Linked DNA regions of Homo sapiens: regions 1, 2, 3 and 4 are each linked to region 5. The links are contacts of gene promoters, found by promoter capture Hi-C in human tissues and cell types (Jung and others, 2019). All regions are on one chromosome and are shown on one strand. Each heading gives the region's core, a stretch centred on a gene start or on the middle of the fragment in contact. The rest is flanking DNA. Distances are from core to core; before and after follow the strand shown. Region 1 overlaps LOC124902288 (a long non-coding RNA gene). Region 2 holds the start of ABL1 (ABL proto-oncogene 1, non-receptor tyrosine kinase). Region 3 overlaps NUP214 (nucleoporin 214). Region 4 overlaps LOC124902288 (a long non-coding RNA gene). Region 5 holds the start of LAMC3 (laminin subunit gamma 3).

Region 1 (4,985 bases), core at 1,582-4,081, 220 kb after region 5:
GATCATTTGAAGGCCAGATTTTATCAAAACAAATGAATCACTGTTTCTCCTTCCTTCATCAGGCTAGCGTGCAGTGGTGTGATTGATCTCGGCCCACTGCAACCTCCACCTCTCAGATTTAAGTGATTTTTGTGCCTCAGCCTTCCAAGTAGCTGGGATAACAGGAACGCACCACCATGCCCAGCTTTTTGTAGAGATGAGGTTTCGCTATGTTGCCCAAGCTGGTCTTGAACTCCTGGGCTCAAGCAATCCACTTGCCTCGGCCTCCCAAAATGCTGGGATTATAGGCATGAGCTATGGTGGCCAGCCAAAAAGTTCTTAATGAGTTGCATATATGTTTTATAAATCCCTATTTTTTATCTTATTATTATTTTTTTGAGACGGAGTCTCACTCCGTGACCCAGGCTGGAGTGCAGTGGCACTATCTTGGCTCACTGCAACCTCTACCTCCCAGGTTCAAGCAATTCTCCTGCCTCAGCCTCCCGAGTAGCTGGGATTACAGGCATATGCCACCACACCCAGCTAACTTTGTATTTTTGGTAGAGACAGGGTTTTAGCCTCGAACTCCGACCTCAGGTGATCCGCCAGCCTCGGCCTCCCAAAATGCTGGGATTAGAGGCATGAGCCACCGCGCCCAGCCTATAAATCCCTATTTTTAAAAGGCACTCTCATAAACATTTTTAAATAAAGTAATATAAACTTGTTTTAGAAAAGTCAGAGCAGGACTACTAGTATCTTATTTTATATTTCTATCCAGTCTTTCCTAAAATTTAAATATTGTGGTATCATACCTAAAATAGAAATGTCTATCCCACTTTAAAACATGTTGATTATTTAATTAGTCCAGCTCTGGCTTTTTTGTTAAGAATTGTTCATGTTTACAAAGTGAAAAATACTCATTCTCTCTTTTATCTGTTTTGTCCATTGAGACTGCTAGACATCAGAATCCCTTAAAGGGGAGACACCTAAGCAACAAAAGAATGTGGTCAGTTTTGCAAAATAAAGTTATCACTTAAACCTTCAAGCTACTGAATACAATCATCAATATATCATAACTGGACACAACGTAATTCATAAGTGTGATGACTTCAAGCAGAAGTTTCTAATCTGTCGTGCGAGCACATATGATACTGTCGGGAAAACACTTTTAAAATTAAGAGCAAAGGAACAGCTACAAGGAACAGACTATTCTGGAACCACTTCCAGGAACAGGCTTTGTTTAAACAAAATGTATTAAGTGAAACCAGCTGTATTAAGGAAAGGTCAGTGCCATCTGAAGTGGAATTCTAAAACCACCCACTTCATAATATCAGGGCATCCTTCCTGTTTTTTGAAGGAAATACTCAGTGGCAAACTAGCTACAGGACCTCAAGGCAAGGAGCAGTTCACCAATGGACAAAAGGCCCAACTGCATGCAAATGGATGCTCACAAGAAACCACTTGGGTAACACTAACTAGGCCAGCCAGCTTTAGGCCTCCATACCAGTCATATCAAGCAGTGCTGAAGAAACGGGAAGGGACTCACGGACAGCAAAAGGGAGATTAATCTACTATTTATGGTGTATTTTTGAGGGTACCAGAAAGAAGAAACCTGCAGTCAGAAATACTCAGTATATTCTGCCCTTTTGAAAGCCAAGTGAGTCCATTGTTCCTGGGGTAAGAGGAACTCTAAAATGCACACTTTTGTCATGTCTAAAAAGTAACACAAATCTCAAGAAGAGTGGAACCTACATTGTAACTAAGGTTCCATTATTTAAAGTCATTTTCCCTAACTTAATAACAAAAGCATAAGAAAGAGCTTGCTCCTTCAAAGACTTTCTCGGGGTAACATAATCTGGGCCTTTATGAAGTCAGGGAACCCCGTCAACAGTGATCACCAGTTATGAAAGCATTTCCCAATGTCTCACCCAATACAGCCAGTAAGACTGTAATCAAAACAATGCAGTTGAGAAATGCAGCCACTAATCATTTTATTTTGGAAACCAATTAGGGAATGATGAAGGAAGGAGAAACAGTGATTCATTTGTTTTGATAAAATCTGGCCTTCAAATGATCGAATGGCCAGGAAATACACATATTTCTATGGTCTAAGGTGTCTTAAACTTGGCCTTTAAAAAAAGACTCTTTCAAAGCTTGTGAGCAAACTAAATCAGCTAGTTCATAAAGCAAAGTCTCTTGACTATGACATAGTCTGCTAACTTTATGGATGTGGGCTCACAGGTAAAAAAATAAATAAAAAATGAAAAATAAAATAAAAACTGCCTACTGGCAGTTACAAACGTTGCAGTTTGCAACGTTTAATTCAACAAGATAGTAATGTGTCATGATCCAATGGCAACAGTCCCCAACCCTTTTGGCACCAGGAACTGCTTTTGTGGAAGACAATTTTTCCACAGACTGGGGATGGGGCCACTGAGGGGTGGTTCTGGGATGATTCAAGTGCATTACATTTATTGTGCACTTTATTTATATTATTATTACATTGTAATATATAATAATTATACAACCCACTGTAATGTAGAATCAGTGGGAGCCCTGAGCTTGTTTTCCTGCAACTAGACAGTCCTATCTGGGAGTGATAAGAGACAATGAGAGATCCTCAGGCATTAGATTCTCACTAGGAGCACGCAACCTGGATCCATCGCATGTACTGTTCACAATAGATTTCATGCTCCTATGAGAAACTAATGCCGCCACTGATCTGACAGGAGGCGGAGCTCAGGCAGTAATGAGTACTATGGGGAGCGGCTGTAAATACAGATGAAGCTTCATTGCTTACCTGCCGCTCACCACCTGCTATACGGCCTGGTTCCTAACAGGCCACAGACCATGACCAGTCTGTGGCCTGGGGATTGGGGACCCCTGATCTATGGAACAGTGGTGGCTTGTGTTTGAAACTGCACTCAATAACTTGGTTTACCTGCCTCTTTTCAAGCAAGCAACACTCAGTACTAAAATTGCAGTCAAAATGTACGACACAGCTTGCACAGACTCTAGTTATTTCTCAGAAAAAATAGTCTGAAACTTCTAAAATGCATAGAGAGGACAATCAGCAAATATCAAAAGTGTGAAGAATGTTCCAATTACAGGAAATCCTGATTAGTATGGATACCACCAATTTAAAATTCATGATAATTAAGGCCCAGTTAGACATCACAATATGTATGCGGAAGAAAGGGGGCAGATGCTGGAGGAGTTGGAGAGGTGATGGGCAAATAGATCTATGGAAAAAACTTTTAAAGAAATCCATCAATACTGACAGGAATACTAAAAATAAGCAAATTCCATGTGAATCTTATTGGCTGATTAAAAAGTATTACCCTTGGCCAGGCGCGGTGGCTCATGCCTATAATCCCAGCACTTTGGGAGACTGAGGCGGGCAGATCACCTGAGGTCAGGAGTTCGTGACCAGTCTGGCCAACATGATGAAACCCCGTCTCTACTAAAAATACAAAAACTAGGTGGGCATGGTGGCGGGCACCTGTAATCCCAGCTACTCGGGAGGCTGAGGCAATAGAATTGCTGGAACCTCAGAGACGGAGGCTGCAGTGAGCCGAGATCGTGCCATTGCACTCCAGCCTGGGTGACAATAGTGAAAATCCATCTCAAAAATAAAAAGTATTACCCTTTGGTAGCATTTTGTAAGCCGTCAGTTTGTAGAGGCAAGATGGTGTTAGTGAAAAAGCACCTGATTAGAAACTAGAAAGCAGCTGCATGGGGTAGTTCTGGGGCTCTGCCACTTTCTAACTTAGTGATTACAGGCAAGTCATTTAACCTCTCTGAGGATCTTAGCTCTACAGTAGGGACAACATCTGTCATCTCAAAGACATCAAATGAGATGTCATACGATCAAATTTGCCAAGTGTGGTGACGTAAACAAAAGGTACCATATTATTTGAACTATCTCTTGAAATGTCCTACTCAACATTTTTCACGCATCTTAAACCCTCTTATACCCTCCCCCAATTCCGTACTTCTTCTCCTTGTGCCATTCAGGGTCCCAGGTCAGAAATCACATCTGACATGGCTCCTGGTGTGTCATGGAGAAAGGGGGAGAACTGAAGGACTCATAGGACCACTAGGGGTAGGGAAGTAGCTGATGGGAACTGGAAAGGGAAAAAAAGCATCAAGATGAGGAGGAATGAAATTAAAGTCATCCTGTCCCTGGCAACACTGCCAAGACTCACTTATGTTACCATGCGAGCTACCATGTGAACTTGAAGGGCAGAAAGTAAAATCCTCTAGTTGAGCAAACAACTCAGTGGCAAGAGAAAGGAAAAATGACACATTAGCAGTGGGAAGCTTAAAGTCCTGGAGGCTGTAAGACTCGACGTGTAAATGGTGGTGTGTCCTGGGAAAAAGGTAGGCCTTCTCCCAAAATGAGCCCCAAGGGACCCTGTGTCTACTTCCTGGGTGAAAATGAAATTCTGTCGTTAACTTGATTTCTTTCTTGCATCCTGTCTCGGTTTAAGTCTAGGCTTGGTTCTGAACCAAGTGTGATCTTTAGGCAAGTTAATGCATCTCTCTGGATCAACTTAATGTTGTCTTAAATTTTAAACCTTCCTTCTTGGTGTCATTTCCCTTCTTCTTGAGGATGTTCTTTAGTGATGGTATTAGTCAGCATTCTCCAAAGGGACAGAACTAATAGGATATATGTATATATGAAAGGGAGTTTATTTGGGAGAACTGGCTCACATGATTACAAGGCAAAGTCCCACGATATGAGGTCTGCAAGCCGGGAAAGAGAGCTCGTAGTGGCTCAGTCCGAGTCTGAAAGCCTCAAAACCAGGGAAGCCAACAGTGCAGCCATTAGTCTGTGGCAAAAGCCCAAGAGCCCCTGGCAAGCCACTGGTACAAGTCCAAGAGTCCAAAGGCCTTAGAACCTGGAGTCTTATGTGGACGGGCAGGAGGAGTGGGAGGAAGCATCCAGGATGGGAGAAGGAAGGAAGCCAGGAGACTCAGCAAGCTTATCCCACCTTCTTCTG
Region 2 (5,187 bases), core at 983-3,482, 170 kb after region 5:
AATGCCTGGGACCCTGAGTGGGCGTCAATAAACACTGACTGACTGATCGACACTGATTGACTGATTTAGGCTGTCAGTGAAAGTGGAAAGCCTGGATTACTCATCCAGATGTTAGGAACTATTTTTCCCAAAAGACAAATAGCACTTCCAGTCTTTAAAAGACTATCGCTGAGGCTTGTTAAAGTCTACCAACTACAAAATGATAATTCCATTTACTTTCTCTAATTAACTATAACAACGAAAAGAAGAAAACTCAGTAAGAAAGAATTCCTAGAGTGACACCTTCCTAGAAGAAGGTTTAACCCAAGGCAGTCTGCTGTACTAGAACTTTTTTTTTTTTTTGAGACTTTAGAGTCAACATTATAATTCATTTCAAGACATGTTGGAATGAGTTTTAGATTTTTTTCCCAAAACAATAATTAAACCAGCCAGGTCCATACTAAATCTCCGGTTTACTCCCAGGAAAACAAAACAATGACTTGGCAAAGCTGTGACCTAAACTTTGCTCCAGCTCTGCACTTACAAAAGTCCATTCATCCCCGCCTTAGGCACCCATCTGCAAAGTGGAGATGATGATGCCTAACACTAACTCGATACAGATGTAAATGAGAATGTGCTCAGAATTTTGAGCAACTTGGAAAAAATAAGCGATGTATTAATTGAAGATGATTTGGAATGCTCAGACATCAACTTTTAGGGACAAATAAACAATCTCCACCCTCCAAATGCTAGGCTCTGTGAGCCCACTCCACCTAGATGAGCCTTCTCTGGGCCATTCAGCCCCCTGGAATCCCAGAGACAGAAGAGGAGTGAGGTACACAAACTGTGGCAAGAAGGGCAAACAGGTTTCACCCACATCACTAGTGCGATCTGCATATGTGACTCCAAGCAGGCCTTCAGGGTAGAGTCAGAGGTTAAGGAAAGAAAAATAGGTTAGAAAATAAATGAGGCCTGTTTATTTCTCCTGCTTTTTTAAAAAGAAAAACATGGCATTCTAGCAGAAATCCTACTTGATCTAAAGTGAGCTTCACATTTCTTTCTACTCTTTTTTTTTTTTTTTTTTTTTTGAGACCGAGTCTTGCTGTGTCGCCCAGGCTGGAGTGCAGTGGCGCGATCTTGGCTCACTGCAACCTCCCCCTGCCGGGTTCAAGCAATTCTCCTGCCTCAGCCTCCCGAGTAGCTGGGATTACAGGCGTGTACCACCACGCCCGGCTAATTTTTTGTATTTTTAGTAGAAATAGGGTTTCACCATGTTGGCCAGGCTGGTCTCGAAATCCTGACCTCAAATAATCCACCCGTCTCGGCCTCCCAAAGTGTTGGGATTACAGGCTTGAGCCACCGCGCCCGGCCACATTTTTACTCTTATATTCTTAGTTGAAAACAACAGAGAAGTCCAAGTGCCACTCCATCTCTGAAGCACAGATAGCCTTTCTGCTGAAGGCAATGGTCTGGGAGCACCAGTCTCAAATCAGATCAATTTCATACCCACCTAGAAGCTACGAAAGTGAAGACCCATAACCCTTAATTTACTTTTTTTCCATTTATAAAACTAAAGACTACAACAGGAAAGAAAAATAAAATAAAACAGATGTAATTAGAGAAGGAGAGTAGGTAGAAAGAACGCAAAAGTGAAGCCCTCCTGGCCCTGAGCTTCACTTAAGGAAACGAACATGACACCCCAGTACTCTGGGGGACTCCTTGGAAACGCCTTCTTAAATGGGCTCCCCTCCCCTGAAAAGAGAGCGAATTCCTAAGACCTCTTCGTGGTCTGTAGATAAGATGGGGGTGGGGGAGATGGAAAGATCACTTGAAATTCTGTATCCATAAATGGTAGAGTGGTGCTCCTTGTGTACATGATGCTTAATGGAAATCGCATGTTTTCACAAACACGGGTCGATCTTTTTAACACACAGTCCCAATTAACGGTGGAAATTCCACAACGTGGGATCCCAGGGATGTTAAGGCCTGGCGAGTTGGCTTTCTCAAACTTTTTCGGGGGAGCCCGCACTGTGGGGCCCCGGACGCCGCCGTCACCATCCGGCGTGGCTCTACCGGGGCTGGTGCCGGGGCTGGGGGCCACGCTCCGCCGGCGGCGCCTAGGGGCCATCGCGAGAAAGAGAAAGAGACAGAGAGAGAGAAAAAGAGAGAGACAAGAGAAGAGAAAAGAGACAGACACAGAGAGAAAGAAAGAGAGACAGAATATAAGAGAACTGAAGAGAAGAGAAGAGAAGAGGGAAGAAAGAAAAAAAAGACAAGACCCGGGGAGGGCGCAGGCGGGAGCGCGCGGGCGGCGAGGCCTAGGAAGGGCCCAGCAGCAGCGGGAGGGCGCGCGGCTACTCAGCCCAACCCGTGCGGCCCGGGCTTACCTTCCAGATAACAGCTGGAGGACGAGGACAGCCCCTTCTTGGATTTGCAGCCCACCAGCTTCAGGCAGATCTCCAACATTTTCCCGCGCCAGCACGTCGGGGGCCGGAACCCCTCTCCCAGCTCGGTCCGCGGGCCCGGCTCAGGCCCGGCTCGGCCCGCGCGCCCCCCCGGCGCCCCCGGCCCCGCCAGCCGCCCTCACCGCCGCCCCGCGCGCCCGCGCCCGCCCATGGCCGCGGCCGCGTCTCCGCCTGGCCGGGACGCGCCTGTTAACAAAGGGCCCGGAGAGGGCGCCCGCCAGGCCCGCCCCCGCCCCGCCGCCGCCTGCGCCTTAACCCCCTCCTGGCCGCGCCCGTCCGCACCCAGGGGCCCCTGGCGTTCCCGAGGCCGAGCCCGGCCCAAAGCCACCGCCGCTTTCCAAAGCCAACCCGGGCCAATGGCGATCCTCGCAGGGGGAAGGCCGCGCGCGGCCCGCGGAGGTCTTTCTCCGCCTGGAAGCGCCGTCCCAGCCCCGGCGGGGAGGGTGCAGGCCTGCTCCACTCCACTTTAGAAGCCGCGCGCAACTCCACCGCGGCCTGGGGCGTCTCCAACCTGCACCGCTTTTGGCGAGTTTCCCAGTACGCGGTGCCAGGCAAACCCTCTGACCCGAGAACGCTGGTGAAAATGCATATTCCTCTGCAGTTACCAATACTAACTGGTCTCATTTCTACTCAACGCGCGTCCTGTGATTAAGGCTGAGGCAGTGGGTGTCTGGGGAGGAAGTCAGAGCTGGCACCCACAGGACAACCACACGTGCGCACGACACCCCGGTGAGGCCGCACATCCAGACCAGGATATGAGGTCAGGCTGCGAACAGACGGGTGTGAGTTCAGAGTGAGAGGACTTAGTCCCTACAATGAGAATTTTCGGAGGCACGGTCTGGGCCTCTTCTCTGATTCATTTTCTTTAACAGAGAACTTTTCCTCTTCCTTTGGCCGAGTGCCACGGGGTGAGGGTGGGGGGACCATTGTTTAAAATCCATTTCATTCAATTATTTTAAACTCTTGTTTGGACTGACCACAGACAATGTTATAAAGCAGCAACAATCACAGTCGTGTTACTGGCGCACACCCAGAAATCTAGGTCAGAGGGAAACAATAAGGAACTCAATGGCACCAAATAATTCAATAAAATCAGGTAAGTTCCCCTCATGACAGGAAAAGGAATTTATTTCATTTATTTCTTTCATAAATGGTGTTAATCACAAAACTGTAAAGGGGGAAGTTTAGTCCACATCTTCTAGCCATGAAGAGTAAGAGCTGACGTGTATTGTGCTCTTCCTATGTGCCATGTTACCTTCATTAACTGTATTGCATCTGCGTAATGATTCTGTGAGGAAACAGATTATCCCAATTCTTCAGGTTTAAAAACAAACAAACCCCACAGATGCTCAGAGAAGTCAGACACCTTGCCCACAGCTGGAAACAGGCGGAGATGGACTCAACCCAGGTCTGCCTGGCTCCAAGGATCAGGCTCCCGACCAGTGGATGATGCTGACCCTTCACATCAAGAATAAATTCCAAGTGGATTAAAGCATTGGATATCTTTGGTCAAATAACTAGCATTGTCATTATATGTTTCAGAGAAAGCCTTGGTTATGAGACCCTGGCTACTTTCTAGCCTATCCTGTAATGACAAAAACCCGGGTATCTTCAGTACCTCAGGAATGGCTAAGTAACAAGATCTTCACTTGGCTCTGCCAAAAACAGCACATAAAAACTCCAGTTGGACAGGATGTAACCAGTGTATATCACAGGGGTTCTCGGCCAGGATGTCATTAACTTTCCACATGTGTCCTGCCAAATTCTGATCAACATACAACATGTATTTTTACTGCCATTGAATGGACCTACTGCTAGAGTCGTGGTACCAGATCAGGCCTCATGAGCATCCAAGAGGGCACCATCAGGGAAGTTTGCAGCTCCCATCATCTGGAGATGCAGGACTACAGGGCCCCCAGGGGATGGGTGCAGTGACTCTGGATGCTTTCTAGGATCTGGGAAGCGCTGTCATTCTGCTGGACAGCCTGCGTGTGGTGACTGCTAACATGTTTAGTGTTGTCTTGAATCTGTCAACCTCTACACGTAATGCCAAAAATAACACTCAAAAGGGTGCCACCAGTACCAACTAGTGAAAAAATACAGTATCTGTCTGTTTTGTTGCCCTTTTGGAAAGTTCAGGGGCCTTGGATCAGACTATAATAAAGTCTGTCATTATATAGCATTTCATATTAAAGGGCCATATTCAAATTGGCGGCTTAATGCCAAGAATTACACATTATTAGGCATTTTGGAAATTCTAGCCATATCCTTGAATACCGTCTGTTAATATAGGCCCAGATATTTGCTTGCCTTGTGCTGTTCTTTATATTGGTATATGTTTATTTTTTTAAGCTAATTATTATTACTAATATTCTGCTCTTGAGTCTAAAATGATCTTATCCTCTTAAATCCTCTTAAAATGAATAATGCTTATAAACTGTACCCAAATCTTTTTAATTTTAGTTATAAAACCATACATCAACAGATCTAACAAAATACTGAATTAGTGGCAATGGATACTGAAAAAACTGCCAAACTACACTTCTGTATCAAACCTGGCCTATACTTTCCATATCCAGCTTTTGACGCTTTTGAAAGATACGAAGAGCATTCTGTTACAAGCAAATAAAGGAGAGCTTCAATCTTCTTACCAGAAGAACACCCCAAGAAGGATTCCTTCTAATCAGCCTAAGACCCAAAAGCTATTAGCTAAAAAGAAAGGGAAAAGGAAAGAAATTAAAGA
Region 3 (5,088 bases), core at 1,276-3,775, 200 kb before region 5:
ATTATCACATCATGCTTTATTTCACAGTACTTAACACTATCTGAAATTATACCGTTTTATTAAAGAATGACTCCCTCCATCTAATGGAGGCTCCATGAACACAGCCACCTTTGCCTGTCCTACTCACCATGAATTCCTATATGAATGATTAAATTAATTTGAACAGACCTTGGTTTCAGTACTGGTTCTACAATTTACTAGCTAAGAGTATTCCATTTTAACAAAATGTTGAGTCTTCTGATCCATGAATATGGGATGTATTTTCATTTATTTAGGTTGTCATTAATTTCAACAATGTTTTATAGTATTCATTGTATAAGTTTTGCACTTCTTTTGTGAATTTATCCTACCCATTCTGTCTCCTACCCTTCTAGGACTCTGATTACACATATATTGGACTGCCTGATATTGTTGCATAGATCGTAGAAATGCTCTATCCATTTTTTTTCCATCTCTCTGACCTTCATTTTAGATAATTTCTATTGATACGTCTTCGAGTTCACTGTTCTTTTGTAGTATTCACTCTGCTGTTAAGCCTATTTTGTTTTTTATTTCACGTACTAGATTTAAACTTCAAATACAGATAACGACTTGCGTTTTTGTTTTTTTTTTTGAGATGGAGTCTCGCTCTGTTTCCCAGGCTGGAGTGCAGTGGTGTGATCTCGGCTCACCACAACCTCTGCCTCCTGGGTTCAAGTGGTTCTCCTGCCTCAACCTCCCGAGTAGCTGGGACTACAGGGGCGCGCCACCATGCCGGCTAATTTTAGTATTTTTAGTAGAGATGGGGTTTCACTATGTTGGCCAGGCTGGTCTTGAACTCCTGACCTCGTGATCCGCCCGCCTTGGCCTCCCAAAGTGCTGGCATTACAGGCGTGAGCCACTGTGCCCGGCCTTTCCATTGGTTTTTTTAAGCTTCCATTTCTCTGCTGAGATTCCTTATTCAACCACTGTTTCAACTATTTTCCCATAAGCCCTATGAACATGACAGTTAAAGTCTGTCTCCAGTTCCAATATCTGAATCATCTATAGGTTGGTTTTTGCTGATTTTAAAAATTTAATTGTGGGTGTCACTCTCTTTTTTGGTTGCTCTGTATGTTTGTATTATGGAAGAACAGTGGTGACTGAAGAACATTAATGCTTTTCCTAGAGAGTGAGAGCTCCCATTTCGTCTGATTAAAGTGAGGAAATAATTATTCAGATTTCACTAAGGGTTGATCTGGAACAGAGTCACAGATTTAAGAAGACTGAGCTCACCTCTGGTTAGCCCAACAGTCTCCACTTAGGTTTTAGGTTATTGGTCTGTAAGTATCTGAGGTGGGAGGCAAGAGGAAGTATCACCTTTCAAACAAGAGTTCCAGAAAACAGGAGAATGTAAGACCCTGTGAGTTCTTTCTACTTTTTAGTGCTGCTTTAGTTCCTTTTTCTTTGCAAAGTTGGGGAGGATTAGCGGGGGAGAGCTGGAGGATATGTATGCTGAATAAATTATTGTTGCACTTACAAGTCTTTCAGATCCCAATCTGAGTTTTTAATTTTTATATCTGACTGAGGCCAGGTGTAGTGGCTCACGCCTGTAATCCCAGCACTTTGGGAGGCCGAGGCAGGCAGATCACCTAAGGTGAGGAGTTCGAGACCAGCCTGGCCAACATGGTGAAACTCCAACTCTACTAAAAATACAAAAAGTAGCCAGGTGTGACAGTGAACACCTGTAGTCCCAGCTACTACTTGAGAGGCTGAGGTGGGAGAATTGATTGAACCTGGGAGTCGGAGGTTGCAGTGAGCTGAGACTGTGCCACTGCACTCCAGCATGGGCGACAGAGCAAGACTCCGTCTCTAAATAAATAAATAAATTTGACTGACTGAGACAGGGTTCTCACTTTGTCACCCAGGCCAGAGTGCAGTGATAGGAACATAGCTCACTGCAGCAGCCTTGACCTCCCGAGCTCAAGTGATCCTCCCACCTCAGCCTCCTTAGTAGTTGGGACTACAGGCATGCACTGCCACGCCCAGCCAACTTGTGGGTCTTTTTTTTTGTAGAGATGGAATTTTGCCATGTTGCCCAGGCTAGTCTCAAACTCCTGAGCTCAAGCAATCTGCCCATCCCAGCCTCCCAAAGTGCTGGGATCACAGGTGTGTGTGCCACTGCGCCCAGCCTTAGCATATGGTTTTCAAAGTTTATCTATATGTAGCATGAATGAGAACTTCATTCCTTTTTATTATTTATTTTTTTGAGATGGAGTCTCACTCTGTCGCCCAGGCTGGAGTGCAGTGGCGTGATCTCGGCTCACTGCAACCTCCGCCTCCTGGGTTCAAGCGATTCTCCTGCCTCAGCCTCCCAAGTAGCTGGGACTACCGGCGAGCTTCACCATGCCCAGCTAATTTTTGTTTTTAGTAGAGACGGTGTGTCACCATGTTGGCCAGGATGGTCTCCATCTCTTGACTCATGATATGCCTGCCTCAGCCTCCCAAAGTGCTGGGATTAAAGGTGTGAGCCACCATGCCCAGCCGAGAACTTCATTCCTTTTGTTTTTGTTTTGTTTTGTTCTGAGACGGAGTCTCGCTCTGTCGCCCAGGCTGGAGTGCAGTGGCGCGATCTCGGCTCACTGCAAGCTCTGCCTCCTGGGTTCATGCCATTCTCCTGCCTCAGCCTCCCGAGTAGCTGGGACTACAGGCACCCGCCACCACGCCTGGATAATTTTTTGTATTTTTAATAGAGACAGGGTTTCACTGTGTTAGCCAGGATGGTCTCGATCTCCTGACCTCGTGATCCGCCCGCCTCAGCCTCCCAAAGTGCTGGGATTACAGGCGTGAGCCACTGCACCCGGCCAAGAACTTCACTCCTTTTTATGGCTGAAAAATATCCCATGGAATGTATATACCACATTTTGTTTATCCATTCATCTGCTGTTTGACACTTGGGTTGTTTCCACCTTTTGGCTACTGTGAATAATGCTGCAATGAACATTGATGTACAAGTATTTGTTCGAATCCCTTTTTTTCAATTCCTTTGGGTATTCTACCCCAGAGCAGAATTGCTGGGTCATATGGTAGAAGTACTATATTTAGCTTTTTGAGAAACCACCAAACTATAGTAGCTGCACAATTTTGCATTCCCATCAGCAATGTATGAGGGTTCTAATTTCTTTGTATCATTGCTAACACTGGTTATTTTTATTTTTTACTTTTTAAATGATAGCCATCCTAGGGGGTGTGAAGTGGTATCTTATCTAATTGTGGTTTTGATTTTCATTTCCCTCATTAGTTTAATGCTACTTGATCACCTTTTCATGTAATTACTGGTCATTTATTTTGCTTGCCCCCATCACTGCCAACAGCTCCTTCTCCAGCCAGTACATTTTCTCAGTCTTTGGCAAGTCCTCTCTACTACCTGCTCAAACCCAGACCTGGCATCTGCCCCCAGCAGCTGCTGTGCCACAGTGCTCACACCTATGATGGGCTCCACTCTCTGGAAACCAGTTCAACAAGGCTTTCTGCCACTCTTCAATGGTCCCATTATGACAGATATTTTCCAAAGATGATCACAGCAATACTTCTAGTCACATATGCTCTTCTAGAGCAAGAGGCGGCCTCTGTATCTCCTCTTGAACCTGGATGGGACTTTGTGAGTGCCTTGATGAAGAGGATGCAGCCTAAGTGATGTTCTGTGACTTCTGAGGATAGGTCATAAAAGGTTATACAGCTTCAGCATGGCTCTTCCTCTTTCTTGGAATGTTCCTCCTTGGAACCTAGCCACCACGTTGTGAGGAAGCCCAGGCTACATAGGCCAAATGTAGGTGTTCAGCTAACAGCTCCAGCTAAGGTCTGAGCCAACAGCCAAGCCAACCACTGACATCAGAGTGAGCCTTCAGATGACTCCTGCCTCCAGTCTTCCCTTCTTCCAGCTGAGATCACAGATACTGTGAAGACAAGCCATCCCTACTAAGTCCATCTGAAGTTATGACCTACAGAATCCAAGACTATAATAAATAAGTAGCTGTTGCAGGCTACTAGGTTTTGAGGCAATTTGTTATACAGCAGTAAATAATTCCAATACTGCCAGAGTAAGTGTGACTTCTACATCATCTGGATTTTTCTTGGTGTTATTATGGCAGTGAAGGTTTTCTATATTCTTTTACATCCTAGCCAGAATCTGCCTAGCATCTTTAGAGTTTTCTGAGGATACTTCTGCTACCTGAAAGTTCATTCATTTCCACAATGCCTATCATGTGCCAGACATAGTCCTAAGCATTGGAGATACAGCAATCAATAAAAACAATAAGGCCCCTGCCATCATAGAAAAAACCTTGATTTCAATCTTTGGCCCTTCCAATTGCATACATAATTTCCGTGGTGGAAGAATACGGAGTGGAAGGGGAAGTAACAATATGGAGTTTATCACAGTGATGTTTTCTATTTCTTTGGCTCAACATTGTGCTTGTTAGTTATACATGGAGCTGAAATCTGCTCCTTTTCATAGCTGGATAATATTCTACTATGAGACCAGGTATGGTGTCTCATGCCTGTAATCTCATCAGCACTTTGGGAGGTCCAGGTGGGAGGATCACTTGGGCCAGGAGTTACAGACCAGCCTAGACAATACGGTGAGACCCCATCTCTACAAAAAACTGAAAAAATTAGTTGGGCGTGGTGGTGCACCTGTGGACCTAGCTATTCTGGAGAACTGATAGGAGGACTGCTTGAGCCCAGGAGATCAAGGCTGCAGTTACCTGTGACTGTGCCACTGCACTCCACCCTGGGTGACAGAGTGAGATCCTGTCTCAAAAAAAAAGAAAAGAGGGTTGGGCACAGTGGCTCATGTCTCTAATCTCAGCACTTTGGGAGGCCGAGGCAGGCAGATTGCTTAAGCCCAGGAGTTCAAGACCAGCCTGGGCAACATGTGAAACCCCGTCTCTACAAAAAAATACAAAAAATTAGCCAGGCACAGTGTGTGCACCTGTAGTCTCAGCTACTTGGGTAGCTAAGGCAGGAGAATCACTTGAGCCTGGGAGGCAAAGGTTGCAGTGAGTGGAGATCGCATCACTGCACTCCAGCCTTGACGACAGGAGTAAAACCCTGTCTCAAAAAAAAAAA
Region 4 (5,467 bases), core at 2,374-4,873, 200 kb after region 5:
ACTGCAACCTCCGCCTCCCGGGTTCAAGCGATTCTCCTGCCTCAGCCTCCTGAGTAGCTGGGATTACAGGCGTGTGCTATCACGCCTGACTAATTTTTGTACTTTTAGTAGAGATGGGGTTTCACCATGTTGGCCAGGCTGGTTTGTAACTCCTGACCTCAGGTGATCCACCTGCCTCAGCCTCCCAAAGTGCTGGGATTACAGGCGTGAGCCACCATGCCCGGCCTGTCTGATTATTTTAATTAAGACTTTAAGTCAGACAGAGGAGCTTATTTTGGCTACTCTAGATCCTCTGTTGCACATGCATTTTAGAATCAGCTTTATTTTTACTAAATTTTATTTGTATTTTACTGATTTTTTTTATTTTACTAAACTTTATTTTTATTTTATTTTATTTTTTTGAGACAGAGTCTGGCTCTGTCACCCAGGCTGGAGTGCAGTGGTGCAATCTCGGCTCACTGCAAGCTCCGCCTCCCAGGTTCAAGCCATTCTCCTGCCTCAGCCTCCTGAGTAGCTGGGACTACAGGCGCCCGCCACCACGCCCGGAGAATTTTTTGTATTTTTAGTGGAGACGGGGTTTCACCGTGTTAGCAAGGATGGTCTCGGTCTCCTGACCTCGTGATCCGCCCACCTCGGCCTACCAAAGTGCTGGGATTACAGGCGTAAGCCACTGCGCCCGGCAGATGGTTACTTCTTGAGTGAACTTTGGTAGTTTGTGTCATTCAAGGAATCTGTTTCTTCTAGATTGCTGATCAATATTCAGTTATTACACTTTCAATATCTTTAGAATCTGTGTGATGTCATCTCTTTCACTGCTGATATTACAGTTATTGTCTTCCCTTTTTTCCCCTGATCAGTCTGGGTAGAGGTTTATGAGTTTCATTGCTCTCTCAAATAACTAGCTTTTGGTTTCATGATTTCTGTACTGGTTTTCTGTTTCATTGATTTCCAGACTGGCCTTTTCTTTTTCTTTCTTTCTTTCTTTTTTTTTTGAGACGGAGTCTCGTTCTGTCGCTAGGGTGGAGTGCAATGGCGCGATCTCGGTTCACTGCAACCTCCGACTCCCTGGTTAAAGCGATTCTCCTGCCTCAGCCTCCTGAGTAGCTGGGATTACACAGGCAAGCGCCACCACGCCCAGCTAATTTTTGTATGGTTAGTAGAGACGGGGTTTCACCATGTTGGCCGGGATGATCTCAATCTCCTGACCTTGTGATCTGCCCGCCTCAGCCTCCCAAAGTGCTGGGATTACAGGCATGGGCCTCCCTGCCTGGCCACACTGGCTTTTTCTTCTGCTTAATTGGGGTTTCACTAGTCTTCATTTTTTCTAATTTCTAAAAGTGGGACCCCAAGGTCATTGATTTGGGACCTTTGTTCTTTTCTGATACAGATGCTCAACTTAAAATTGGGTTACATCCTGAAAAACCCATCATAAAATTGAAAAATGTAAGTTGAGACGTCATAAGTCAGGGACCATCTGCACTATATAAATTTCCCTTTAGCTCCATCACACAAATTTTATGTGGCACTTTCACCTTCATTCAGTTCCAGATACTTACTTACTTCGCTGTTGATTTTCTTTGACCCATGATTTACTTAAAATTATGTTATTTTCCAAATATTTGAAAGATCTTCCAGATACCTTTCTGTTATTAATTCCTCATTTAATTCCTTGTGGCCAGAGATCATACTTTCTTTTTTTTTTTTTTTTTTTTTTTTGGAGATGGAGTCTCGCTCTCTCAGCCAGGCTGGAGTGCAGTGACACCATCTCGGCTCACTGCAACCTCATCCTCCCGGGTTCAAGTGATTCTCCTGCCTCAGCCTCCTGAGTAGCTGAGACTACAGGTGAGCGCCACCATGCCCAGCTGATTTTTTGTATTTTTAGTAGAGAAGGGGTTTCACCATGTTAGCCAGGATGGTCTTGATCTCCTGACCTCGTGATCCGCCCGCCTCAGCCTCCCAAAGTGCTGGGATTACAGGCGTGAGCCACCGCACCTGGCCAGAGATCATACTTTCTACAAATTGAATCAGCTTACATTCACTGAGGCTTTTGTTTGTTTGTTTTTTTCGAGACGGAGTCTCACTGTTGCCCAGCTGGAGTGCAGTAGTGCAATCTCGGCTCACTGCAACCTCTGCCTCCCGGGTTCAAGTGATTCTCCTGCCTCAGCCTCCTGAGTAGCTGGGATTACAGGTATCCACCACTACACACAGCTAATTTTTGGTATTTTTCGTAGAGACGGGGTTTCACCACGTTGGCCAGGCTTGTCTCGAACTCCTGACCTCAGGTGATCCGCCCGCCTTGGCCTCCCAAAGTGCTGGGATTACAGGCGTGAGCCAACCCGCCGGGTCTACTGAGGCTTTTAAAATGGCCCAGAAAATGATTTGTCTTGGAAACAGTTCCATATGCACTTGAAAAGAACGTGTATTCTGCTGTTTAGGGGTCGAATGTTCTACTGAACATCAATTAAGTCAAGTCAGTTGATTATATTGTCCAAATCTTCTATATCCTCACTGATTTTTGTCTACTTGTTCTATCAGTTTTTGTGAGAGAGTTGTTAAACCTTCAACTATAATTACAGATTTATTTCTCCTTGAAAAGTTTGTATTTTGAATCTCTGTTAATACATGCATAAACATTTAGAATTATGTCTTGATGAATGTATCTCTTTATTATTATGAAATAATTCTCCTTTATCCTTGGTGACATTCATTTTAAAATATAGTTTGTTTAATATGCCACTAAGGTTTTCTTTTCATTAATGTTAACATATTAACATCTTTTTCCACTCTTTTGCTTTTAACGTATTTGTATTTTTATATTCAAAGTGGGATAACTGTAGACAGCATATAAATATAAATAGGTCTTGCTTTTTTATCCAATCTCACAATGTCTGCTTTTAATGAGGATTTTTTTTTTTTAAGATGGAATCTCGCTGTCACCCAGGCTGGAGGAGTGCAGTGGTGTGATCAGAGCTCACTGTAGCCTCAAACTCCTGGGCTCAAGTGATCCTCCCACCGTAGCCTCCTGAGTGGAACTACACCACCACACCTGGCTAATTTTTTTTTTTTTTTTTTTTTTTGTAGAGATGGAGTCTCACTTGGCTTCCAAAGCTGGTCTCAAACTCCTGGCTTCAAGTGATCCTCCTAATCCACCTCCCAAAATGCTGGGATTACAGGCATGAGCCACTCTGCCTGGCCCTTAATGGTGAATTAATTATTGATATGAATTTTAACCTACCATCTTGCTCTTTGTTTCATATTTGTCCCATCTGCTCTGTTTGCTTTTCCTGTTTAGTTTTTTTTTCTGCCATCTTTTGGATTATTTAAAGATATTTATCCCAACTTTTTTTTTTTTTTTTTTTTTTTTTTGAGACGGAGTCTCACTCTGTCGCTCAGACTACAGTGCAGTAGCACTATCTCCGCTCACTGCAACCTCTGCCTCCTGGGTTCAAGTGATTCTCCTGCCTCAGCCTCCCGAGTAGCTGAGATTACGGGCAGGTGCCACCACCATGCCCGGCTAATTTTTGTATTTTTAGTAGAGACAAAGTTTCACCCTGTTGGTCAGGCTGGTCTCGAACTCCTGACCTCATGATCCACCCACCTCGGCCTCCCAAAGTGTTGGGATTATATCCCAACTTTTTATTGTTGTTGGCTCATTAGCTATAACTCTGCTACTATAGATTTTATCATATGCATCTTTAACTTATCACAGTCTACCTTCAATTGACATTATACAACTTCACATGTAGTGTAAAAAGCTTACAAGAGTATATTTGTTCTCCCACTCCCAGTCTTTGTGCTGCTATTGTCATAAACTTTACTTCTATGTAAGTTACAAATGCTACAATGTGTAATTACCTCTAAGACATATCTTTTAATGAGACTGAAACAAAAAGAAAAAATATCTTATGTATTTATCCACTTAGTTACCCTTTGCATTGTCTTCATTTATTTTTATAGCTCCAGTTTTCTTTTATTTGTTTGTTTATTTAGACAGAGGGTCTCACTCTGTCACCCAGGCTGGAATGCAGTGGTGCGATCATAGCTCACTGCAGCCTGGGACTCCTGGTGGCTCCAGTTTTCTACCAGTTATCATTCTCTTTCTGCTTTAATTACATCCTTTGATATTTCTTGTACTGCATATCTACTGGTAATAAATTCTTCCTTTTTTTTTTTAAAGTCTGAAAGAGACCTTATTTTGCCTTCATTTTTGAAAGGTATTTTCACTGAGAAAAGAATTCTAGGTAGACAACTGTTTTCTTTCTTTGCTTTAAATGTATTGTTCCACTGTTAACCTGGCTTACATTGTTTCCAATGAGAAATCTGGTGTCACCCTGATCTTAAGTATATAATGTATCTTTTTCTTTGGCCATTTTAAACCATGGTTTTAAGCAATTTGCTTAAGATGTGCCTTAGTATATAGTTTTTCTTCATGTTTCCTGTGCTTGGAGTTCCTTGAAATTCTTGGATCTGTGTGTTTACTGCTTTCATTACACTTGGAAATTTTTCAGCCATTTTTTTTTCTCTCTCTATATATATTTTTTGGTCCCTCATACCCTCCCTTCCTTCAGGGACTCCAATTCCACACACATTTGGCTACCTGATGTTGTCCCTCACTTTACTGATGTTGTGTTCATGTATTTTTTTCAGGGTTTCTTTTTTTTTTCTGCTTCATTTTGGATAGTTTCTATGGTTAAGTCTTCAAAATCACAAATCTTTACTTGTGCAATGTTTATTCTGACAGTCTTCAGTGTATTTTTCATCTCTGTATCTTTCTTTTTTGTGGAGACGGAATCTTGCTCTCTCGCCCAGGTTGGAGTGCAGTGGTACGATCTTGGCTTACTGCAACCTCTGCCTCCCAGGTTCAAGTGATTCTCCTGCCTCAGCCTCCCGTATAGTTGGGATTATAGGTGCACGCTACCACACCCAGCTAATTTTTGTATTTTTAGTAGAGGTGGGGTTTCACCATGTTGGCTAGGCTGGTCTTGAACTCCTGACCTCAGGTGATCCACCTACCTTGGCCTCCCAAAGTGCTGGCATTACAGGCGTGAGCCACCATGCCCAGCCATCATCTTTCATGTCTTTACTTAACATATTAAATCTTTTCTTTAGCTTACTGAACACATGGAATACAATTATAATGACTAATGTCTGTAATGTACTACTTATATAATCTGTCTCATTTCTGGTCAGTTATTGGTTGTATGTTACTACTTCTGCTCATACCTAGTAATTCTGGAATGGCTGGTAAACATTGTGCATTTTACCACACTCGGTCCTAGATGGTTTTGTATCCCTAAAAATATTCTTCAGCTTTTGTTTGGAAAAGGTTTGATCTTTTTGGTCTTGCTCTTAACCTTTGCTAAGCAAGACCAGAATAGCATTTATTCTAGGATTAATTTTTCCCAACTATTGAGGCAAGACTTTTGTGATGATTAACATTATGTGTCAACTTGACTGGGCCATACGT
Region 5 (5,341 bases), core at 281-2,780:
TTAGTCCTCCTCCCCAGAGGGTTAAACTTTGCCTGTGCAGTGATGAACATCACAGCTTCTATCTTCCAGAACCCACCCGAGGACTGCAGGCAGCTTCAGGGGTCCACTGAATACCTGAAGTTGACCAGAAGACCCAAGATCAGGAGCCCCTGCCCTAGAGGGTGACCAATTCAGTCCTTGGTGTGTCACCTCCCCAACAGTTCTGGTCTAGGATGGAAAACCATTACAGGGGATTATAATTGCAACCTAGAACCAAAGCTCAGCAAGTGACTCCCTGCCTCTCCCGCCCCACGGGGCACCCCTCAGTCTATCCTTCTGGCTATCTAGGGGTACAGGTCCTGTTTTTTTTTCTTCTTTTTTTCATTCTTTCTTTTTATTAAGAGATAAGGTCTCACTCTGTAGCCCAGGCTGTAGCACAGTGGCACTATCATATTTCATGCAGCCTCAACCTCTCAGTCTTAAGTGATCCTCCTGCCTCAGCCTCTTGAGTAGCTGGGACCATAGGTGTGCACCACCACGCCCAGCTTTTTTTTTTTTTTTTTTTTTTTTTTGAGACGGAGTTAGCTCTGTTGCCCAGGCTGGAGAACGGTGGTGCGACCTCGGCTCACGGCAACCTCCACCTCCCGGGTTCAAGCGATTCTCCTGCCCCAGCCTCCTGAGTAGCTGGAACTACAGGCACCTACCACCACGCCCGGCCAAATTTTCTATTTTTAGTAGAGACGGGTTTTCACCATGTTGGCCAGGCTGGTCTCGAACTCCTGACCTCAGGTGATCCGCCCGCCTCGGCCTCCCAAAGTGCTGGGATTACAGACGTCAGCCACCGCGCCCGGCCTATTTTTCTTTATTTTTTGTAAAGATGGGATCTCACTACGTTGCCCAGGCTGATCTTGAACTCCTGGGCTCAAGCGACCCTCCCATCTCGGCCTCCCAAAGTGCTGGGATTTCAGGAGTGAGCCACCGCACCCAGCCTAATTCCTATTTCTGAGCCCCTCCATCCAACACCATATCTGGGTCCTGCAGCCCAACCTGGGCGCACAGCAGCTCAGGCCTCAGCCTCAGACCCCCAGTGGAGTGGGGACACGGGGTGCGGTGGCGGTGCCCCCAGCCCGCGCTTACCTAGGCGGAGGGTGATGTTGACCGAGGTGGGGTACTGCACGCCGAAGGCCATGGACGGGCTCTGCCACCAGGTGCTCTCGTCCTGGCTGTGGAAGTCGGTGAGGTAGGAGGCGTTGTGGTGGCGCTGGGGGTCGGCGGCGTCGCAGCGCTGGCAATGAGCCCCCGCGCCCGCGGCGCCCACGTGGGGACAGAAGTCCTCGGGCGGGCTGCCGCACGTGTGCGAGGCCTGGGCGAGCCGCCCAAACGCCGCGTTCTCGAACACCGGCAGGCAGCGCTGCGGGCGCCCTGCGCCGTCATAGCACGCGCCCATGCCCGCGCCGGCCGCCCGCGGTGCCAGCAGCGCCAGCCCCAGCAGAAGCGCAGCCGCCGCCATGGTCAAGGGCACCGACGCCGCGCGCTCTGCCGGCCCCGCTCGGCTAGGGTGGGCGCGGACCGCGCGCTGGCCGCCAGGACCCGCCTTCCCCTGCGGGGCGGGGAGGCTGGAGGGAGGGGCGGGCGGCGGCGGCCCCACCCCACTAAAAATACCAGGGACCGCGCCGTCCCCGGGCGCCCACTCCCACCTGCTGGACGTGCCCGGCAGTGCGCGGCTCGGGAGTCTGCCCCAGAGGCGACCCGGGCCTCTTTGAGCCTCAGTTTCCTCGTCTGTGGAGTGGGGTCGGTAAAGATGCAGGCTCATTCTCGCCATTGGGAGGCTTCAATGGCTGCTCATTAAACAGAAACTGTTCAGCAGTGCCTTGGAGTCCTGAGATAAAAGGGGACAAGAGGATCTATCTCTAACTGATCGCTACCGTTTGCGCATCTCCTCCTAGCAATAAAGTGTGCCCTGGACAGGGTTGTGAGATGGCTCCGCATAGCTCCTGTCGCCCTTAACCCTGAAAAGCACTCCTGCTGCCGGCTGCGCTCTGTCCCCACAGCAAAGAGATTCTAACCTGACATTTGTGACAAGGGTACCTGGTCTTATCACAAATGTCACCTCAGAGAGGGCTTCCTTGTCTTCTGCCCCAACCCCCATAAATGCCCCCTTTACTCCCCATTTATTAACATTAGCAAATCGAGGGAGAGAAGTCATTCGATAAAATTTAGCAGCCAGGTCGTGCGCGGTGGCTCACGCCTGTAATCCTAGCACTTTGGGAGGTGGAGGCGGAAGGATAACTTGAGGCCAGGAGTTCGAGACCAACCTGGGCAAAATAGTGAGACCCTATCTCTACAAAAAAATACAAAAATTAGCCCGGCGTCATGGCACAAGCCTGTAGTCCCAGCTACCTGGGAGGCTGAGGTGGAAGGATCCCTTGAGCCCGGGAGGTTAGGCTGCAGTGGGCTGTGATCATGCCATTGCACTCCAGCCTGGCCAACAGAGTCAGACCCTGTCTCGAAAAAAAAAAAAAAAAAAAGGCAGCCATTCCCAGACGAACTCTAAGGAAAATAGAAATAAATTTCCTGGCCTGGCGCGGTGGCTCTCGCCTATAATCCCAGCATTTTGGGAAGTTGAGGAAGGCAGATCACCTGAGGTCAGGAGTTCGAGACCAGCCTGGCCAACATAGTGAAACCCCGTCTCTACTAAAAACACAAAAATTAGCTGGGTGTGGCGGTGCGTGCCTGTAATCCCAGCTACTCAGGAGGCTGAGGCAGGAGAATTGTTTGAACCCGGGGGGCAGAAGTTGCAGTGAACTGAGATCATGCCATTGCACTCCAGCCTGGGCAACAAGAGAGAAACTCCATCAAAAAAAAAAAAAAGAAAGAAAAGAAAGAAAGAAAATTTTTGGAAGCAAGATGAACTGTAGTGGGCTGATTCACTACCAGTTATTTACACATGATTAAAACAATACGGTTGTGGAAAGGACTACAGAATAGACCCATGGAATAAGTTAGAGATTTCAGAACTATATCTAAGTAGAGTTAGTATATGATATCACCACTGGTACCTAAGGTTATTTTGGAAGTTCTAGCTAATACAATAAGACAAAAAACTTAAAAGATATAAATATTTATATCTTCTACTTACCTGAACATACATCTAGAAAATCTAAAAGATTCTACTAAGACTATTAAAATTAATAAGAGCTCCGTAAGATGGCTGACTACAGGATAGAGTACGAAAACCAATGCCAGCAATAGGCATTTTCTGGCTGGGTGCGGTGGCTCACGCCTGTAATCCCAGCACTTTGGGAGGCTGAGGCAGGCAGATCACCTGAGGTCATGAGTTCGAGACCAGCCTGGGCAATATGGTGAAACCCCATCTCCACTAAAAATACAAAAATTAGCCAGGCATTGTGGCACACCTGTAATCCCAGCTACTTGGAAGGCTGAGGCACAAGAATCGCTTGAATTCAGGAGACAGAGGTTGCAGTGAGCCGAGGTCACGCAAATGCACTCCAGCCTATGCAATAGAGCAAGACCCTGTTTTTTAAAAAACAAAACAAAAACAAAACAAAACAAACAAAAAACTGATGCCAGCAATGATGTAGGAAATGGTAGAACACCTAATAATAAATCTGGTATGAAATGTGCAAGATATAAATGAATCAAATTATAAAATGCTACTGAGAGACAGAAAACCTGAAGAGACCAGCATCTATATTCACGGATTTCCAACTGTTTAAATATACAAATTCTCCCCAAGTTAAAATATCATTTAATGTAATTCCAAATTGTTTTTTTGATGGTGTTATGGAAGCTTCTTTGTTAAAGTTTTCTCTTATGGTCAAGAACATGATTGCAGCAGACTCTTGATGGTCCACGCAGCTACCCTGAGCTGGGCTGTGCACCCATCCAAAGCAAATTCATCTATCAGGCACAGGAAACATGGCAGCCCACAGGAATTCTAGGAACCCACAAAAACTGTTCTAATATCTTTAAAGTCAGAAGAAAAAAAAGAACTTTTAGGCTGAAGAACATGTTTTAACGTATGATATTAATATACCCGTCTTTAGATCAATGCAATGGTTAAATATAATTTTTAAAAATGTTAGTGCCAGGCACGGTGGCTCATACCTGTGATCCCAGCACATTGGGAGGCTAAGGCGGGTAGATCGCTGGAGCTCAGGAGTTTGAGGCCAGGCTGGGCAACATGGTGAGACCTCGTCTCTACTAAAAATACAAAAAATTACCCGGGCATGGTGGCATACACCTGTGGTCCCAGCTGCTTGGGAGGCTGAGGTGGGAGAATTGCTTGAGCCCAGGGGGCGAAGGTTGCAGTGAGCCAAGATCACGCCACTGCACTCCAGCCTGGGTGACAGAGGGAGGCCCTGTCTCAAAAAAAAAAAAAAAAATTATAATTGTGGTAAAATACATATAACATATTTATAAAATTTACGATCTTAACCACTTTTAAGTTACAATTAAATAATATTAAGCACATTCACATTGTTGTGCAACCATCACCACCATCCATCTCCAGACCTTTTTTTTTTTTTTTTTGAGATGGAGTCTTGCTCTGTCACCTAAGCTAGAGTGCAGTGGCGCCATCTTGGCTCACTGCAACCTCTGCCTCCCAGGTTCAGGCAATTCTCCTGCCTCAGCCTCCCTGGTAGCTGGGATTACAGGCACCTGCCACCATGCCCAGCTAATTTTTTTATTTTAGAGACTGGGTTTCACTATGTTGGCCAGGCTGGTCTCGAACTCCTGACCTCAAGTGATCCTCCTGCCTCAGCCTCCCAAAGTGCTGAGATTACAGACGTGGGCCACTGCACACGGCCTCCAGAACTTTTTATCTTGCAAAACTGAAACTCTGTCCTCTTAAACAATAACTCTCTATAACCTTCTCCCCTCGGTAAAATAGAATTTTTAATATTTTTTAATAAATAAAGGAGCCCGCTAAGGCAAAACTGCCCAGGGTCCAGGAAAGTCATAAAGTGTCCATGATAATGTTAGAAATGCTTGTTCCTCGGTGCCATAAAGAAATACCACTTGAACATAAATTTAATTTCTTCAGCAAGGCTATTTTTACTTTGTGCAGAAAGGGTACACTCGCCAGCAGTTTTGCCACTAGAGTACACTGAACAAAGGAGACAGGGTCATTTATAACCTGACACGTCTACTTTACTGCTGTGTCCAGTTTCCATTGGCTGGAACGGGACTTCACATTCTGTATTTGTCCTGATTGGCTAGCAACTTAGAACTTTTTAAAAGAGGCAAAGGTGGAGGAGAACAAAGGAAGGAGGAAGAAATTTGTGGAGTGCTGAGAAAGGTAAAAACACTTCTAAGTAAGGAAGAGGAATAGGTTATG

What was found. Contacts are between HindIII fragments. The study calls those that stand out against the background at their distance.
Region 1: a fragment that was not itself captured here is called in contact with the fragment with the promoter of LAMC3 in region 5 in 2 of the 25 tissues and cell types used here (dorsolateral prefrontal cortex and hippocampus).
Region 2: a contact is called between a fragment that was not itself captured here and the fragment with the promoter of LAMC3 in region 5, in 1 of the 25 tissues and cell types used here (thymus).
Region 3: a fragment that was not itself captured here is called in contact with the fragment with the promoter of LAMC3 in region 5 in 2 of the 25 tissues and cell types used here (liver and thymus).
Region 4: a fragment that was not itself captured here is called in contact with the fragment with the promoter of LAMC3 in region 5 in 3 of the 25 tissues and cell types used here (aorta, spleen and thymus).

Annotation. Positions count from the first base shown.
Region 1 is chr9:130,791,565-130,796,549 of GRCh38, reverse strand. All of the region lies in intron 2 of LOC124902288 (a long non-coding RNA gene), which reads left to right. It also overlaps a transcript of ABL1 not described here. Among named protein-coding and RNA genes, the nearest start is that of ABL1, 41 kb to the left of the region's middle. The HindIII fragment of the contact is 3,606 bases long and covers 1,029-4,634 here.
Region 2 is chr9:130,832,705-130,837,891 of GRCh38, reverse strand. It overlaps ABL1 (ABL proto-oncogene 1, non-receptor tyrosine kinase), which reads right to left and starts at 2,638. Exons shown (of 11, transcript NM_005157.6): 1 at 2,367-2,638. The coding sequence starts at 2,445. It overlaps LOC124902287 (a long non-coding RNA gene), which reads left to right and starts at 3,064. Exons shown (of 2, transcript XR_007061822.1): 1 at 3,064-3,173; 2 at 3,427-5,187. RefSeq lists silencers at 2,065-2,114, 2,585-2,894 and enhancers at 2,531-3,056, 3,295-3,344, 3,365-3,414, 3,057-3,583. The HindIII fragment of the contact is 5,982 bases long and covers 1-5,187 here.
Region 3 is chr9:131,206,152-131,211,239 of GRCh38, reverse strand. All of the region lies in intron 30 of NUP214 (nucleoporin 214), which reads right to left. Among named protein-coding and RNA genes, the nearest start is that of FAM78A, 68 kb to the left of the region's middle. The HindIII fragment of the contact is 7,607 bases long and covers 1-5,088 here.
Region 4 is chr9:130,809,811-130,815,277 of GRCh38, reverse strand. The region is part of intron 2 of LOC124902288 (a long non-coding RNA gene); the gene reads left to right. It also overlaps a transcript of ABL1 not described here. Among named protein-coding and RNA genes, the nearest start is that of ABL1, 23 kb to the left of the region's middle. The HindIII fragment of the contact is 5,337 bases long and covers 955-5,467 here.
Region 5 is chr9:131,005,363-131,010,703 of GRCh38, reverse strand. LAMC3 (laminin subunit gamma 3) reads right to left here and starts at 1,530. Exons shown (of 28, transcript NM_006059.4): 1 at 1,117-1,530. The coding sequence starts at 1,489. The HindIII fragment of the contact is 10,117 bases long and covers 1-5,341 here.